Linked DNA regions of Homo sapiens: region 2 is linked to region 1. Evidence: promoter capture Hi-C in 16 types of primary human blood cells and fetal thymus (Javierre and others, 2016). All regions are on one chromosome and are shown on one strand. The core of a region is centred on a gene start or on the middle of the fragment in contact, and the rest is flanking DNA. Distances in the headings are between cores, read along the strand shown. Region 1 holds the start of HOXC12 (homeobox C12). Region 2 overlaps LOC105369777 (a long non-coding RNA gene).

Evidence for each region. The method cuts DNA at HindIII sites, captures the fragments that hold promoters and counts their contacts. A CHiCAGO score of 5 or more calls a contact.
Region 2: a contact is called between a fragment that was not itself captured here and the fragment with the promoter of HOXC12 in region 1, in 2 of 17 cell types (naive B cells and total B cells). The highest score is 6.9, in naive B cells.

Annotation. Positions count from the first base shown.
Region 1 is chr12:53,952,216-53,960,044 of GRCh38, forward strand. HOXC12 (homeobox C12) reads left to right here and starts at 2,688. Exons shown (of 2, transcript NM_173860.3): 1 at 2,688-3,324; 2 at 4,113-6,741. The coding sequence starts at 2,715. The coding sequence ends at 4,351. LOC105369775 (a long non-coding RNA gene) reads right to left here and starts at 4,212. Exons shown (of 3, transcript XR_944977.2): 1 at 4,127-4,212; 2 at 3,676-3,752; 3 at 1,170-2,064. The HindIII fragment of the contact is 3,202 bases long and covers 1,782-4,983 here.
Region 2 is chr12:54,196,066-54,203,894 of GRCh38, forward strand. LOC105369777 (a long non-coding RNA gene) reads left to right here. Exons shown (of 3, transcript XR_944984.2): 3 at 4,395-6,268. Among named protein-coding and RNA genes, the nearest start is that of SMUG1, 11 kb to the left of the region's middle. The HindIII fragment of the contact is 6,102 bases long and covers 1,419-7,520 here.

The DNA.
Region 1 (7,829 bases), core at 1,438-3,937:
AATTTTGCTAGTGGTTGTCGACAGCTCTCCCTGAGAGGAATCAGGGTCAGCTGCAAAGAAGAAAGAGGGGTTTGTGCGTGCTTCTTTGCCCGCCGAATCCAAAACCTGGGGAAAACGGCCCTCTTTGATGAGGCTAAATCAGGCTAGAAGAAATGCGTGCCTGGAAGAAGGACGCCTTCACCCAATCTTCATTTCTCCTGCGTTGCATCCGCCGCCCTGTGGCCGCTGCTCCTCACGCTCAGCGGCCTGGCCTGGGAGGGCAGCGAGCAGAGCTCCCGGCCTGGGAGTTGCCTGCTGGGGTGGAGGGAATGGGGAGAGGCTGAGACCTTCCTCTTGGGGTCCCTCTTCTAGGAGATTGGAATTATCTGGGAAGGGAAAAGAGAATGAGGAGAATACTCCACCCCTCAAAGGCTAGTGATTATTTGGCAAAGCCCAGCTCGGCATCCCTCACACCAACAATAGCGGCTGAGCGCAGAGGCCTGGAGAGCCTGGGCGCAGACCTAGCTGCCCGCACGATGTTCTGATTGAAATCAACAGCAATATTAATGTCACACCCTGTTTATCTTTATGACCAAATTAACCCTCAAATAAAATGTTTTTTAAAAACTAAAATTTCAATGGCGCTCATCAATGTATCTTGAGAAGGGGAAATAAGATGTTACAGATGCTGTGACCTGGAATTTGCAGCTGAGAGATGCTCCTCTCCGTAGCCTCCCAGCCCCTTATCAGTTAGGCACAAAAAGGCCAATCCAGGCTGAGTCTCCTGCTCATTCCTTGGCGCCACCGGCTCTAACTGAAGGTGGCGGCTTCGGGTTTGCAGCCCATGGCTTGCCCTAAGTTCCGACAAGTGCGCCTAACGCGGGGCCGGCTCCTGGGGGCGGGAGGGGCTGGACCAGGCCGGGCAGCTAGGCAAGCAGGGGCGGGGAAGGGGAACCGGCCAAGCAGGGCAAGGGACAGGCACCGAGCTGCGAGCTTCGAACTGCTCCGGGCAGGGCGGCGCCCGCGGGGACACATTTCTGTCGGAGTGAGCAGCTACGGTTTGGGATATGAAATCGCCCGGGGAGCGGTGGAATTCAAAGAATCTGCGTTTCTCTCTGCCGCGTCCTGCAGAGGAGAGAGGGGAGGGAGAGGAAAAAAAGGGAGAATCTTCTCTGCTTCGATCTGCTTTTGCAGCTTTGGCTTATTCTCAGGCTTTCTCTGATATTTAACTTTCACCTAAATGGGTTTCTTTCTCATTCTCTCCGAATCTCTGTCTCCAATTTTCTTTCAATCTTCTGGTATTTTTTCGTATTTAGACGTTTACTGAACTATTTATCCAACCCTGTATTACTTAAGCCATGCATTGGTTAGAAGCTCGAAATAATCACATGGAAATTCGAGTGTTTTTTCTATTAGACCCCAAAAGGATACATCTGGTTTGGGGGAGTTTTATTTTGTCTTTCTTTTTAATCCGCTTGGCTGTGTTCTGTGGACCTAGTTGAGATCGGATTGTGGTTTTGCAGATGTTGATTATCTCACCAATGGCCAGCATTGCTTCTCGGCCTTCTCTGGAGGGAGCTTCTGAGTTTGCACCATAAATATAATTTCACCCCCCAATAAGATAATTCTTCAAGGGTTTTTTCCCTCAATCCTAGCCCCCTCAGGAGGCAACCTACTGCGGGCCTCTGCACTGCTATCTGATGGTCCCAGGGGCAGGCTTGGCCGGTTCTGGGGTGCAGTTGTCTCCTCCGCAGTGAGAATTAGGCCCCTCTCAGCCCAGTCAAGCCCTGTTAGGGGTCCAAAGCTTCCCACTGCAAAGACTCCAGGAGGCCCCCAGAAGCTCCTCAGTTCCCCGGAAATGACAGCAGAAGAGTAGTTCGCCCCCAGATTTTCAGGAGCAGGCAGGCAGGTCCATGTGGAGCTAGGCACCTCCTTTTGCTGCATTCTCTACCTCCCTTCCGCATCCTTCCTCTAGCCGTGAGTGGAGGTGTGAGGCTGGGTGGCTCCCGGCTCCAGAGGAAAACCCGGCATTATCAATTATCCTTGAGTATTGGGGAAGAGGACTCCAAATGTCTCTCCAAATTCCTGAGGATAAAGAGCTGATAAAGAAGTGTGCAGCAGCAGCTGGGGCGGGAAGAGATAACGGCAGGGAAACCTGTCCTTACCCCCACTTCGCCTCTACTGTAAATAAACCCCGAGCCAAAGGGCTCATCCGTCTCCTTAAACAGTCAGTAAACTTTATATGACACAATATCTAATAGTAATTTATTGAGGAGATATTGTAAATTCCAACGGTTTTAGTTAATAAAGAAGCTAATTAAAGAGGGACAGGCTGTGCTTGGCCAGCTGTTGGCGATAAGATAATATATGGGGGGGGGTGCAGGTTATAGGGGTGTATATATGCGGGCATTTTTTGGTGTGTGTTTTTTCCCTTTTGCCCCGTGTTGGGCAATTGCTTTACTCTCTGCGTTAGGTTATATACATTGTTTTAGAAAATCAGTTCAGCAAATAAACCTGCCCCCGCCCTTTGTTACCCCACTCACCCCCAGGATTGGGGAAGGGGGAAGTTAGAGTGCGGGATGGGATGGTGGGGGGGGGGGATCGGTTGTCCCCACCCCTCCCCCTGGCGGCCGTGCCCACGTGAGTGGGGCGGCCAATGGGTGACTGGTGCAGATTTAACTATGTTTAATGTCAGATAGCAATAAAGTAGAAGCTGCCGGTCGGGCCCCGCGGAAATGGGCGAGCATAATCTCCTGAATCCCGGGTTTGTGGGGCCGCTGGTAAACATCCACACGGGAGACACCTTCTACTTCCCCAACTTCCGCGCGTCCGGGGCGCAGCTTCCCGGGCTGCCTTCGCTGTCCTACCCACGCCGCGACAACGTGTGCTCCCTGTCCTGGCCGTCGGCGGAGCCGTGCAATGGCTACCCGCAGCCCTACCTCGGCAGCCCAGTGTCTCTCAACCCTCCCTTCGGCCGCACGTGCGAGCTGGCGCGCGTGGAGGACGGCAAGGGTTACTACCGCGAGCCGTGCGCCGAGGGTGGCGGCGGGGGCCTGAAGCGTGAGGAGCGCGGGCGCGACCCGGGAGCCGGGCCCGGGGCAGCGCTGCTCCCGCTGGAGCCGTCGGGGCCGCCTGCGCTCGGCTTCAAGTACGACTACGCGGCGGGCGGCGGCGGTGGCGACGGCGGCGGCGGCGCAGGACCTCCGCACGACCCGCCCTCCTGCCAGTCGCTGGAATCCGACTCCAGTTCGTCCCTGCTCAACGAGGGCAACAAGGGCGCCGGCGCAGGCGACCCCGGCAGCTTGGTATCGCCGTTGAACCCCGGCGGCGGGCTCTCGGCCAGCGGTAAGGACCCCGGCCACTCAAGCGGCGGATTCAAACCCGACCTCTTACCAGGGCGGGCAGAACAGGACTGAGCTAGGGACGCCCAGGGTGACAGAATGTGTGGCGAGGAAGAGCTTCTTATAAAATGAAGTGCGGGTGGGGGGAGCCTATAAACATGTAAACATCCCCACAAAAGAAATGGAGAGTGTTCCTTTTTCGTCTGCCTGCGGCTGGAGGCGGCAGGGATTCCGGAGTTGGGGGATCCTGACGGGGACTCCCCAGGCCTGGGGGTGAGGAGGTGGGGACAGAAAGCCCGGCCCTAGTTCTCCCAGGCGCCTCTCCCTCCACCTTCCCACAGACCCCATTACTTACATTTCGAAAGAAATGCCAGTGGATGCGTTTACTCTGCCATTCGCCCATATCTGTTGTAACTGATCCGGGATCCAGTCCTGAAGGATGTGAGAGGAAGGGACCAGGAAATAGGGAAGAAGAAAATTGGGGAGAGGTTTGGGAAAAAAGGAGGGGATAGGGACTTAGAAGGGTCATGAATAGTGCAGCAGGAGGTAGGGTTGAGGAGGTAAGAGCAAAGAATGAAAGGAAAAAAAAGAGTAAAGAAAGTGGGGGAGTTGGTGGGGATGTGGGTCTGGGTAGAAAAGACGATTCAGATGACTGGCGGCAAGGAGAAGGGAGAGAAAGGGCCTGGAGTCCAGCTGTGAGGCGAAGGTGAAAGGGTCTGGGGAAGGGCCAAGGGCACTGGACTGGTCACCCTTTGATCCTTTGGCCAACCCCTGCCATTCATCTCCACCCAGGCGCGCCCTGGTACCCGATCAACAGCCGCTCTCGGAAGAAGCGCAAGCCCTATTCGAAGTTGCAACTGGCAGAGCTGGAGGGCGAGTTTCTGGTCAACGAGTTCATCACACGCCAGCGCCGGAGGGAACTCTCAGACCGCTTGAATCTTAGTGACCAGCAGGTCAAGATCTGGTTTCAGAACCGGAGAATGAAAAAGAAAAGACTTCTGTTGAGGGAGCAAGCTCTCTCCTTCTTTTAAGGTGCAGGACACGGGCGCCAGCCCCAGACTGAGCCTGTCCCTGGCAGAGAGCAAAAGAGGGCGCCGCCTAGAACACAGTCCCCACTTAGAACGCCAGGCGTCTCTGGCAGGCCCTCCCTGGATATCCTCTTGTCTGTTTTGTTCGTGGTTCCCTCCCATACACACCCAAAACACCCTGCCAGGTCCCAGAGAGAAGGGAAGAAACCTAGCCAGGGAGAGCAGAAGCCGGCAGCTGCCTGCGGTTGGCAGGGGCAGGAAGGCTGAGGTGCTGCGGGCTGGTTTATTTGAGGCAGGACTGGGGCACTGCACCTCCGCTGAGGATCTGGAGAAGCAGCGGCCCAGATGTCCCCTTCCTCTACTTCCCTTCCATGGTCTTAATTCTCTTTGCCGTCAGGAGCAAAGAGCAGGGCCAGTGGAACCAAGGCACCTCAACCTCACAGTTCCTGGGGTTAGAAGAGGCTGGGAAGAGAGAGGAGGGTGGAGGGTCAGCGGAGAGAGCTGAGGGAGTCAGGTGTCTCTGGTAGGGCTGGAGGAAGTGGGGAACCAAGGAGGAAGTGTGGTTTGTGAGAAAATGATTAGCAAGAACCAGAGTCTGCTTGGGTCTGGGTCCCCCAGGACACCCAGTGGGCAGAAGCTTGGGCATTTGGCTGGCCGGGCTGTGGACAAGGACTATCAGCCTCATGTTCCCTCTAGGACCAGAACAGTGTCCTGGTCCCCAGCCCTCTCCTGATCCCGCTGCCCGCACCGGGCGAATGTCTGTTCATAGGTGTGCTGCCATCCACTCCTCCGTTGCCTGCGGTGGCTGCAGGCCTGATGCAGCAAGCAGGGACCTGAGAGCCCAGGGGACACAGCCTCAGGTTCAGTAGCCACCCCAGAGGTCCCCAGCTGGCTCTCCAGAAAGAAAGTGCAAGAGGCTGTAGATGGGGCTACGGAGCACCACACTGATTGGCCGGGAGAATTTCTGACAGCCACAGCCGAGGCCTCTGATTCTCCCTTCCCCGCTGGCGTTCACGGTCACTGCCTCACGGGCCGGCCAGAGGGTGGACCAGCGTAATTTACGAGGCGGGAGGAGAATTCACCCTTAAAGGGGCTACCAGCCATTGAGGTCCCACTCAGCCCCAGTTTCCCAGGCCCGTGAGAATGAAGGAGGGGGGCGCTCCAGCCCCCCACCCAACTCCCTTCTCTCTTCCTCGCCCGCCCCCCAACATTGCCCTTTGTCTTCAGAAGGGCTGCCTCCGCCTCCTGGCCTGCAAACCTCCACAGCCTAGCACATGGACCAGAGCAGAGGGAGGGGCACAGCCCTAGAACCCATTGGAGGTCTGAGAATGGCTTCTCTGAGTGGGAAGGACTTTCATCCAGACTCCTTCAGACCCCAGCCCCAGCCCAGTAGACGCTGGGCTGGCTTGGAAGAGAGGAGCAGTGAGAGAACCATCAACCTTTCTGTACTTCATTTTTATCCTTCTCCCCAAGAGTCCCCCAGCCTCCCATCTGCTGTCCGGCCCTTTCCAGGAGCAAGAGGGGTGAGAAGCAGGGCACTGATGGGAGTTAACTGCAGCCTGGACAGTGTGAAACTGGCCTGCTGGCTTGGAGTGTTTCCCATATGGGGAGAGTCTCCCCTAACAAACTCTCCAAAGGCAATCCACCGAGCTTTTTACTCTCCCACCAGCACACAGCTTCTGTACAGGCAGAGGCAAAGGCAAACACATACACACAGCTGAGCCCAGCACAGCACTGGGCCCACCCCACTCTCCCTAGTGCACTCGCAAGCAGGCAGCCTCATAATCCCCACATGGCCCAGCAGAATGGAGATAAAATCACATGCCTCCATCCCCCGCTGGGTATCTGACACCTGACAATTCCCCATCCACACATACTTGCTTCACCCATGTACAAGTTCCCCCAAATTACCACCATTCCAGCTGTCTGCAGTCTCCTGTGGTCTTCCCCTGGGCATGAAGCACTCCCCACCTTGACTGGTCACCCACTGTACCCCCTTTATGCAGCCCTTCCTGTGACCTCTGGGCTCTAGGGTGCTGGATTTGAGCTCTACCACTCCAGACTAACCTGATTCCCAATCTAATAATGAAGAGGGACCAGAACACTCTAAAAGGAGTGAGGGGACAAAGATATGCAATATTCTCTTTCCATTTGCTTTAAACTTGACTTCTGTGAGGTTCTCTGTCAATCTGTGTCTTGTTCTCTGTGTCTGTCGCTGGTACCTAGTGTAGTCCCTGTGGATAGTTGCCCTTCCCCTAGCTGCCTCCCCAGCTCTCTGTAGTGTAATTCTCCTATTCCAACGTCTGTCTTTAGCACGTTTTCCCTTTATATAGTCCTTGTACAGAGTTGCTTCATCATATTAATATTGATAATAATAATAATTAAAACATGAATTATGATTATGTGATTTTTTGAAAACAAAAGTTCTACCCCAAAATAATGGGAGTCCCAGCCTCTTAGCTGTTCTCCACTTTATTTTCTCCAGCTCAGGTGAATAATAAAAATAATAAATGTGTAATAATAATGAAGGAAGAGTGGTTGCAGGGGCAACAAAAATACATAAGCAACCAAGATCTGTTGATGAGCTACCATCTCCAGTCCCAAGCAATTATAGCAGAGAGAAAATTGGGGGGTGGCAGACTTGGGGGAGGAGAGGGAGCTTTGAGAAGTCATGGGGCCATAAAAATAATGTGGACAGCCTAAAGGAGGTTGAAACCAGCTTCAGAAAAGGAGGTCTGTGCTTCAGGAACTTGACAAATAGAAGCCAGGATAGGGGCACTGGTGAGCTGAGCTGGATACTGGGGCAGTAAGAGTAACCCATAATCCCGGGGCTGAGATGGAGGGGGGTTGGTGGGCCTAGAGCTTCAACCGTGTGGTCTTAATCCTATGGCTTCACTCTGAGATGACGCTTGTGTATTGCAAGATGTTGAGAAGGGGCTAAAGACCCCTTGGAACTGGCAAAATAGGCTCCACCTTTTGAAGCCAGCGACTCCCTCTAGCCCATGCCAGAGGAAAGCCCAGGCCCAGGCCAGTGGTAGAGTCCAGATGTGCCCATGAACCCTCTGCACCTCCACCTACCCCTTCCTTTGGTAAGACATGCCCTCTCTCTTTCTTACCCTTTTGCCTCTTCCCTCCCCTCTCTCCAGTTACCTTTTCTAACTGTAAAGCTCCTATCAAAGGAGTCTCCTCCAAATTCCTCTTCCACCCTCCTGTACCAGAATCCTAGGGGCCCCCACCAAGTCCAGACTCTGAGCCACACCTCCTGCCCTGAAATCTCTCTTTCCTTCCCCTTTTTTATTCCTATAATTAGATAAACTAGCGAATTTAGATCAAATACCATTCTCTTTTTTACCCCTAATCCCCAGTTGCTTTGCGAAGCTGAGGAGTACGGACAGGAAGGAGACCCAAAGCCTTAGGTTGCTCATATAAATGCCCCACAGAGTGCAGCATCGACCGAAGACGGGCAGCTTGGGCAGCCATG
Region 2 (7,829 bases), core at 3,220-5,719, 250 kb after region 1:
TCTCATCTGGGCTCCTGTCTCCTGGGCCCACCCCTCCTCTGGCCTTTGCTGGGGGGAGGAGGGTGTCTGTCCCTGCTGCCATCCCTGGTAAGGACCACATCTCATTTTCCCTTCCTCTCTCCCCCCTGCTCCGCCCTCTCTCCCTCCCCCCAACCCACGGCTGCATCTCCGGACCCATTTAGAATTGCTGACATTTTATCTGCATTACATACATCACTCCGTCCCCAGCAGCCATCTCTCATGGATTATCGGGGGGCGAGGGCGGGGTGGTCCTCAGCTTGGGGAAGTGACAGAGAAACAGGGTGGAGGTGCGGAGATAGATAGCACTTCCTCCACACGCTTTTTCCCTCAGGGCCCAATCCCCAGCCACCTGAGAGGCTGTGCAGGTGGGAGCCTAGGATAGCTGATGGCAAGGGTTGTACCCTAGCCGCCTCCTGCCAGTCACTGCTATCTCATAACATCAAAAGCCTTTTTCTCAGACCACACAGACTAAGGAAGGTCATGTTGCGTGTCTTCCTGCCATGGGACTCCTCCTCAGGACATTATGAAAGGGGTTGTTTAACGTCTTAGCAGGCCTTCTCTAATATTTTCCACACTGCCCTTTTAGGAAGTCTCTCTGAATGTCTAACCACTGTGCTCCATGCTGCAGCCATTATTGTCTTCTTGCTTTGTCCTTAGAAGGTTGAAGAGCAATATTGTTCCTCAAATGCGTTAAACCCTTTGTTAGGATGCCTGAGCAACCATAAATACAGTCACTTTTCCACACTCCTGAGGCTCATAAACATGATAGGAGGCAGAAAGTAGGGCCACCTTAGAAAGGAGGAAATTGAGACCCAAAATCAGGAGAAGGAAAAGCAAGAACCTGTCCAAGATCAGGAGGCAAGGACACAGGGGCCCCACGATCCCAGTGGGCAGTTTGCTCTCCATAGATAGTGGACAGGCAGAGGGCAATGACAGACGGAGAATTCTGGACCAACAGATAGACAGCAGAAGGGAAAGAAAGGGGCAACCAGGAGGGAGACAGGCAAACAGACAAACAAACAAAGAGCTAGACAGACAAAGGGACCGTCAGCCAGGGACAGGCAGACAGGCAAGAGAAAGCCGACAGAGGCGCTGGTACAGCATGTCCCAGGCTGGACACATGAGAAGGGCTCTCTCCGTCTGTCTCTGTCACTCAGGGTCTCTGCTGGAATGTGTCTCTCAGGGTCTCAGGCTCTTTTTGCTCACTGGGTTTGCATCTATCTACTTCCCTGGAAATCTCTGTTTTTCTTGGGCCTCTCAACAGACTGTCCCTTACCTTGTGGTCTCCCCTGTCTAAGACCCCATCCCAGTCACTCCCTCTGTCTCAGGTCATCTTTCTGACCTGCTCTTCACTCTCCCTGTCAGAGAAATTCAGACGCTTCCTGCGGGCTTTGGGAAGCTTCCACAGGAACCGAGCCAGTCCTCCCGGGATGAATGGGAGGGGCGAGGGCTCTAGCAGGGGAGGGGTGGGGAAGGAATAGCTCTTGGGCCTGGAGAAGGGAAAGAGCTGATAGGCCTGTGTCCCCAAAATCTAGCAGGCTTAGCCAGTAAGGCAAGAAGAGCCCGGGCAGGGAAGGTAAAGGGTACAGGACCCTCTGTCCTGTGGCTCAAACCCACACAAAACAGGCCTCAGGCAGTGGGTGCAGGGGTGTGAGTCACCTGCTGTTTGCATCTCATTTGCATGTTTCTGGCTCCCAGTTCAGTCTGGTCCCAAGAGGCTTGGGGGCAGGGAGGGGATCATGCACCAGAGTCCATGACTCTCACGTACCTCCTGACAGCACAAGGCGTGTTCCTGTCCTCTCCTACCTTAAAGCCAGCCTCAACCCCAAAAGTTGGCTGGACACATCATCCTCCAGACATGCCCTGCACTGTCCTGTCTCCAACTTTTGTCATGGTCCCCCGAGTCTTCCCCACTCCTCTCAATTTCGCTCAACATTAGCCATTTTTTTTTTTTTTTTTTTTTTGAGACGGAGTTCCACTCTTGTCGCCCAGGCTGGAGTGCAATGGTATGATCTCGGCTCACTACATCCTCTGCCTCCTGGTTTCAAGCAATTCTCTGCCTCAGCCTCCCGAGTAGCTGGGATTACAGGCACCCACCACCACGCCCTGCTAATTTTTTGTATTTTTAGTAGAGATGGGGTTTCACCATCTTGGCCAGACTGATCTTGAACTCCTGACCTCGTGATCCACTTGCCTCGGCCTCCCAAAGTGCTGGGATTACAGGCGTGAGCCGCCGCGCCTGGCCTAGCCATCTTTTTCTTTTTTGTTTTTTTTGAGGTGGAGTCTCGCTCTGTTGCCCAGGCTGGAGTGCAGTGATGCAATCTTGACTCACTGCAAGCTCCGCCTCCTGAGTTCACACCATTCTCCTGTCTCAGCCTCCCCAGTAGCTGGGACTACAGGCGCCCGCCACCACGCCTCGCTAACTTTTTTTTTTTTTTTTTTTTTGTATTTTTAGTACAGATGGGTTTTCACTGTGTTAGCCAGGATGGTCTCGATCTCCTGATCTCGTGATCCGCCCACCTCGGCCTCCCAAAGTGCTGGGATTTCAGGCATGAGCCACTGCGCCCGGCCGCAGACTAGCCATCATTTAAAGCCAGATACCAAGTCCTCCACTTCCATGAAGGCTTCTCTGATCACACAAACCCCAAGTGATCATAATCCTACAGCTCTCAATGCTGAAAGGCACCTAAAGAAATCAGGTCTGTCTTACCCATCTTCAGGAGATAAGGCTTCACCATCCCCGTTTTATAGATGAGGCAACCGAGGCCCAGGATCAGTTAATGTAGGTTTCCCAGAGCAGAATAGCCAGCAAGTAGGGAGGAGATGAAGGCCCAGGGCACACCTCTCCACACCCCCAGCTCCCACTGCCCCTTGTCATTCATTTAGCAGGGAGCAATGCCCTGTTCTGCACCACTCTCGCATGGCTAGTGAGCTGACCATTGGGCATCGTTGCTCCCCTTCTGGGTTGGGATTTCAGTCTCCCATGACTCCCTCGGCTTCAGCCATACAGAACTACTGCCGGTTCCCTAAATTCTCCTTGCCCTTTCTTAGCAACATGTCTTTGCCTGTGGTAATCCCTCTGACAGGACTGCCTTTTTCTCCACCCACTGCTGAACCTGGCAAACTCCAGCTCATCCCTTAAAACCCATCTCAACCATCACCTCCTCTGTGAAGCCTTTTCTGATGTTCTTCGTCAGATCCCAGCAACCTATTCAAACGTCTGAGGCAGCACTTGTCACACTGCTGCTGACACCGCAGCCTCCCTCCCTAGCCACAAGTCCTTCAAGGGCAAGGACCACCATGTGCTATTCAGCTGTCTCCCCAGGATACACACAAATACAGGCACACATTTAATTGAACCAGATTTTATTATCAACTTCCTTCCCATCCCAGGCCCACAGAACAGAAGCATCAGCCTAGTGGGGAGATCAGAAAGAAAGACTGAGAAGAAAACAACTCAGGAGATGATCGGGGGTACAGCACGTGCATTAGTGCTCTTGATCATCTCTTTCACCTAACTTAATGCTTAGTAAAAGAAGGAAGGGGCTGGGTGCGGTTGCTCACGCCTGTAATCCCAGCACTTTGGGAGGCCAAGGCGGGCGGATCACGAGGTCAGGAGATCGAGACCATCCTGGCTAACATGGTGGAACCCCGTCACTACTAAAAATACAAAAAATTAGCTGGGCGTGGTGGTGGGCGCCTGTAGTCCCAGCTACTCAGGAGGCTGAGGCAGGAGAATCGCTTGAACCCAGGAGGCAGAGGTTGCAGTGAGCTGAGATCATACCACTGCACTCCAGCCTGGGCAACAGAGCGAGACTCCGTCTCATAAAAAATAAAGAAGGAAGGAAGGGAGGAAGAGAGGAAAGTAAAGGAACAGAGGAAATAGGAAATAGAGCTGAAGGAGAAAGGGGAAGAAAGAAGGAAGGGAGAATAAAAAAAAAAAGTAAGAAAAGAGGTGGATGCAGGGTAGAAAGTAGAGCCAGAGAAGGGCCTTGTGGGAAGAGGGAGGGGAGGAAACAGGAGGAGCCAGGGGAGCGGGAGGCCAAACTTTTGACTCTGGAGCATGTCCAGCAGAGATCCTGGCCTTGAGCCTTAGTATCATTCCTGCCACCATGTTCCAATCTGGGAAATGGACACATCTCCCCTTCTCCAGGAACAAAGGAGTCTGGGCGGGAGCACCTGCTGTGCTGTGCTCCCCCCCCCCCAGAGGCCCTTTCACATCTGCCGTCTCCCAAAGCTCACCACAGCCCTGGGAAGTAGGATTTCTTATTCCACCCTTCCCTTCTGATGCGGGGATTGAGACAGAGCGGTCCGCCATGCGGCTCCAACAGGTAAGGTCTGACTCCAAAGGCCTGCTCTTCCCTTGACCCCAGGGTCCCCTCAGCATTGAAGACAGAAGAGGCAAATGACATTTCATGTCCCACTTGGAAAGTCAAGGTGCAGAAAACAGAGGGGACCAGACTCCTTCATATCCTGCGCAGCGTCATCTCCTGCCGCAAGAAGCACCCCACCTGCCGCAAGAAGCACTCCACCCGCATGACTCAGTCTTTGCCCAGTAGGTTGATGATAACCTAAGAAGCTGAAGACCTCACAGGGGCTCTGAAAGCCAACTGAAGTAGATGCAGCAAACTGTTCCATCATGTCATCCTTCCCTCTGCCTTGGGTCACCAGCCAAGGGAGGGAGTGGCTCAGGTGTTTTCCTTTCCACCCCTTTGTAAGCCCCCACGCAGATCTCCTCCCCATCCCAGAAGCCCAAGGAGCCAGCAATATCTGTGGTTCCCTGAGGTTCGGAGAGACACAGTAGCAAATAACTGTACCCAGGCCCCACTCCCCACTTCCAGGGATGTATAGCTTCGGGGTGTGGAGCACAGAGGACTTTTCCCAGAGCCTCACCCCAGATGAACAGCCAACTTCCCTTTGTTCAGCCTTCCTCAGATACTCAAACCCAGCAGCCCATGGCCTTCTCTGTCAGGAAGTCCTTCCTGATGTCTAACTTACATCTTTCCTGCTGCTGTCTATCCAGCCCTTAGCAGTGACAGGAGAGCAGTCTGAGCTCTAATGATCAGGGAATGGGGACAAGAACAAGTACTTCCCTTCAAGCCTTGGGTAGGGGAGTAGTAAGCAAAGAAAGAAGAGTGGCTCACTCAGCCTCATCTCTCCCGGCCTGTAGCAGTAGAAATGGAGGGTAGACAACTGGAAGGACTTCCTAGCCAAGCAAAGGGAGGTACTTCTGGAATAGGATTATAAAGTGCAAAGGCTGCGCCCTTTCTGATGGCCTCCCAGCCTGGCAGAGACCCTTCAGTGGCAGCTTCAGAAGGATAACCGGCACTTCCAGAAAAGCTCAGGGTGCTGGGATTACTGGGAACCCTTGCAGCTCCAGCAAAAAGAAAAACCTGGTCCTGGAGCCCCCTTGTGGCCGTGCAGAGGCAGGACAGGCAGTTCCACCTCCCACCACCACACCCGTGCTTAGAGCTGGGGCCCAGGGTTGCTGATGCAGAGGACAGGGAACCCAGGGCCCCACCTTCTGTGAGAGGCCAAATCGGCAGCCCCAGCCCCGAGGGCACCTGATCAGGAAGGAGTAGGGCCCAGAAGGAGCACTGGAAGAGGACACAGGCTAACCCCATTCTGTTCCTAATCTGCCGCTCTCCATCTGGTGACCCTGGGCACACCTCCCCACAGAGCCTCAGTGACCTCATTCATTAAAAGGAAGAAAAAGCCGGGCACGGTGGCTCACACCTGTAATCCCAGCACTTTGGGAGGCCGAGGCGGGCGGATCACGAGGTCAGGAGATCGAGACCATCATGGCTAACACGGTGAAATCCTGTCTCTACTAAAAATACAAAAATTAGCTGGACGTGGTGGCACATGCCTGTCCCAGCTACTCAGGAGGCTGAGGCAGGAGAATCGCTTGAACCAGGGAGGCGGAGGTTGCAGCGAGCCGAGATCATGCCACCGCACTCCAGCCTAGGCAACAGAGCGAGACGCCGTCTCAAAAAAAAAGTAAAACTCCCTCTGGCCCACCATTTTACCTTAAAGAAGTGTGGAAAGAACCAAATGCAATGATAATGTTCCGTACGTGAACTTGAATCATTTTTAAAACTCCTCTTCAGGCCGGGCGCCATCACGCCTGTAATCCCAGCACTTTAGGAGGCCAAGGCGGGCAGATCACCTGAGGTCAGGAGTTTGAGACCAGCCTGGCAAACATGGTGAAACCTCGTCTCTACTAAAAATACAAAAATTAGCCATGCGTACTGGTGCATACCTGTAATCCCAGCTACTTAGGAGGTAGAGGCAGGAGAAGTGCCTGAACCCAGGAGGCGGAGGTTGCAGTAAGCCAAGACCACACCACTACACTCCAGCCTGGGCAATAGAGCGACACTCCATCTCAAAAAACAAACAAACAAACAAACAAACAAACACCCTTCTTCAAATATGTGGGAAGAGTTGGGCACAGTGGCTCACACCTATAATCTCAGCATTTTGGGAGACTGAAGCTGGAAGATCACTTGAGGCCAGGAGTTCAATAAAGGCTAAGCGCAGTGGCTAACTTCTGTAATCCCAACACTTTGGGAGGCCAGGGTGGGAGGATTGCTTGAGCCCAAGAGTTCGAGACCAGCTTGGGCAACAACATGAGACCTCATCTGTACAAAAAAAAAAAAAAAAAAAAAAAAGCTAGGCACGGTGGGCGCACCTGTGTCCCAGCTACATGGGAGGCCAAGGCAGAAGGATCACTTGAGTCTAGGAGGTCAAGGCTGCAGTGAATCGTAATCAAGCCACTACACTCCAGTCTGATTGACAGAGCAAGACCGTGTCTCAAAAAATAAAATTAAAATAAAAACAAAGGTGTGGGCCAAGCACGGTGGCCCATGCCTGTAATCCCAGCACTTTGGGAGGCCAAGGTGGGCAGATCACGAGGTCAGGAGATCGAGACCATCCTGGCTAACACGGTGAAACCCCGTCTCTACTAAAAATACAAAAAATTAGCAGGTGTGGTGGTGGGTGCCTGTAGTCCCAGCTACTCGGGAGTCTGAGGCAGGAGAATGGTGTGAACCCGGGAGGCGGAGCTTGCCGTGTGAGCTGAGATCGCGCCACCGCACTCCAGCCTGGGCGACAGAGAGAGACTCTGTCTCAAAAAAAAAAAAAAAAACAAAGATGTGGAGAGAGGGGTCAGGAACTGACCCGCTACAGAATAATTCTGGACCTGCAATGGAGGGTGCAGATGGGACTGATGGGTTCTGCCCATCTAGAAACCCACCACTCCAGAGCTCCTGGAGGGAGGCAGACTAGGAGCCCTTAGAAGGAAGAGCCAAAAGGTCCCCAACACAGCCCTTCAATCCTCCACCAGTGCCTACTTTCAGAAGGTTGGGCCTGGTTGGTAAGGGCCCATTTAGCCAGATAGTGGACAGCAGATCTGGCCTGGGGCCTGAGGGCATTCAGTGCAACATCAGGGAAGCCTCAGGTGTCGGCATGCCTACTTCATAGTGTCAGTGGCTCTCCCAAGCTTGTGCACTCACCAACTCATCCCACCTACCAGCTGACCCCAGGGCCAGAGGCAGGATAGAGACCAGAGGGGCCTTCTGGAGTTCTGGGGCAAGGGCTGAGGCAAAGGCACACCGAGACCCCCAGGTATGCCTTCACCCCATGCACAGCCACACACACGGCTGGCTCCACAGATGGACCCAGCACACCCTCAGATCTCCCACACACAGACCCTCCAAGCATCCCATCCTGAGAAGATGAGGGACGGTTGGAGTGGATGGTAAGGCCACAGGGCCCAGAGCAGGGACAATGGTCAAGGCCAGGGCAGG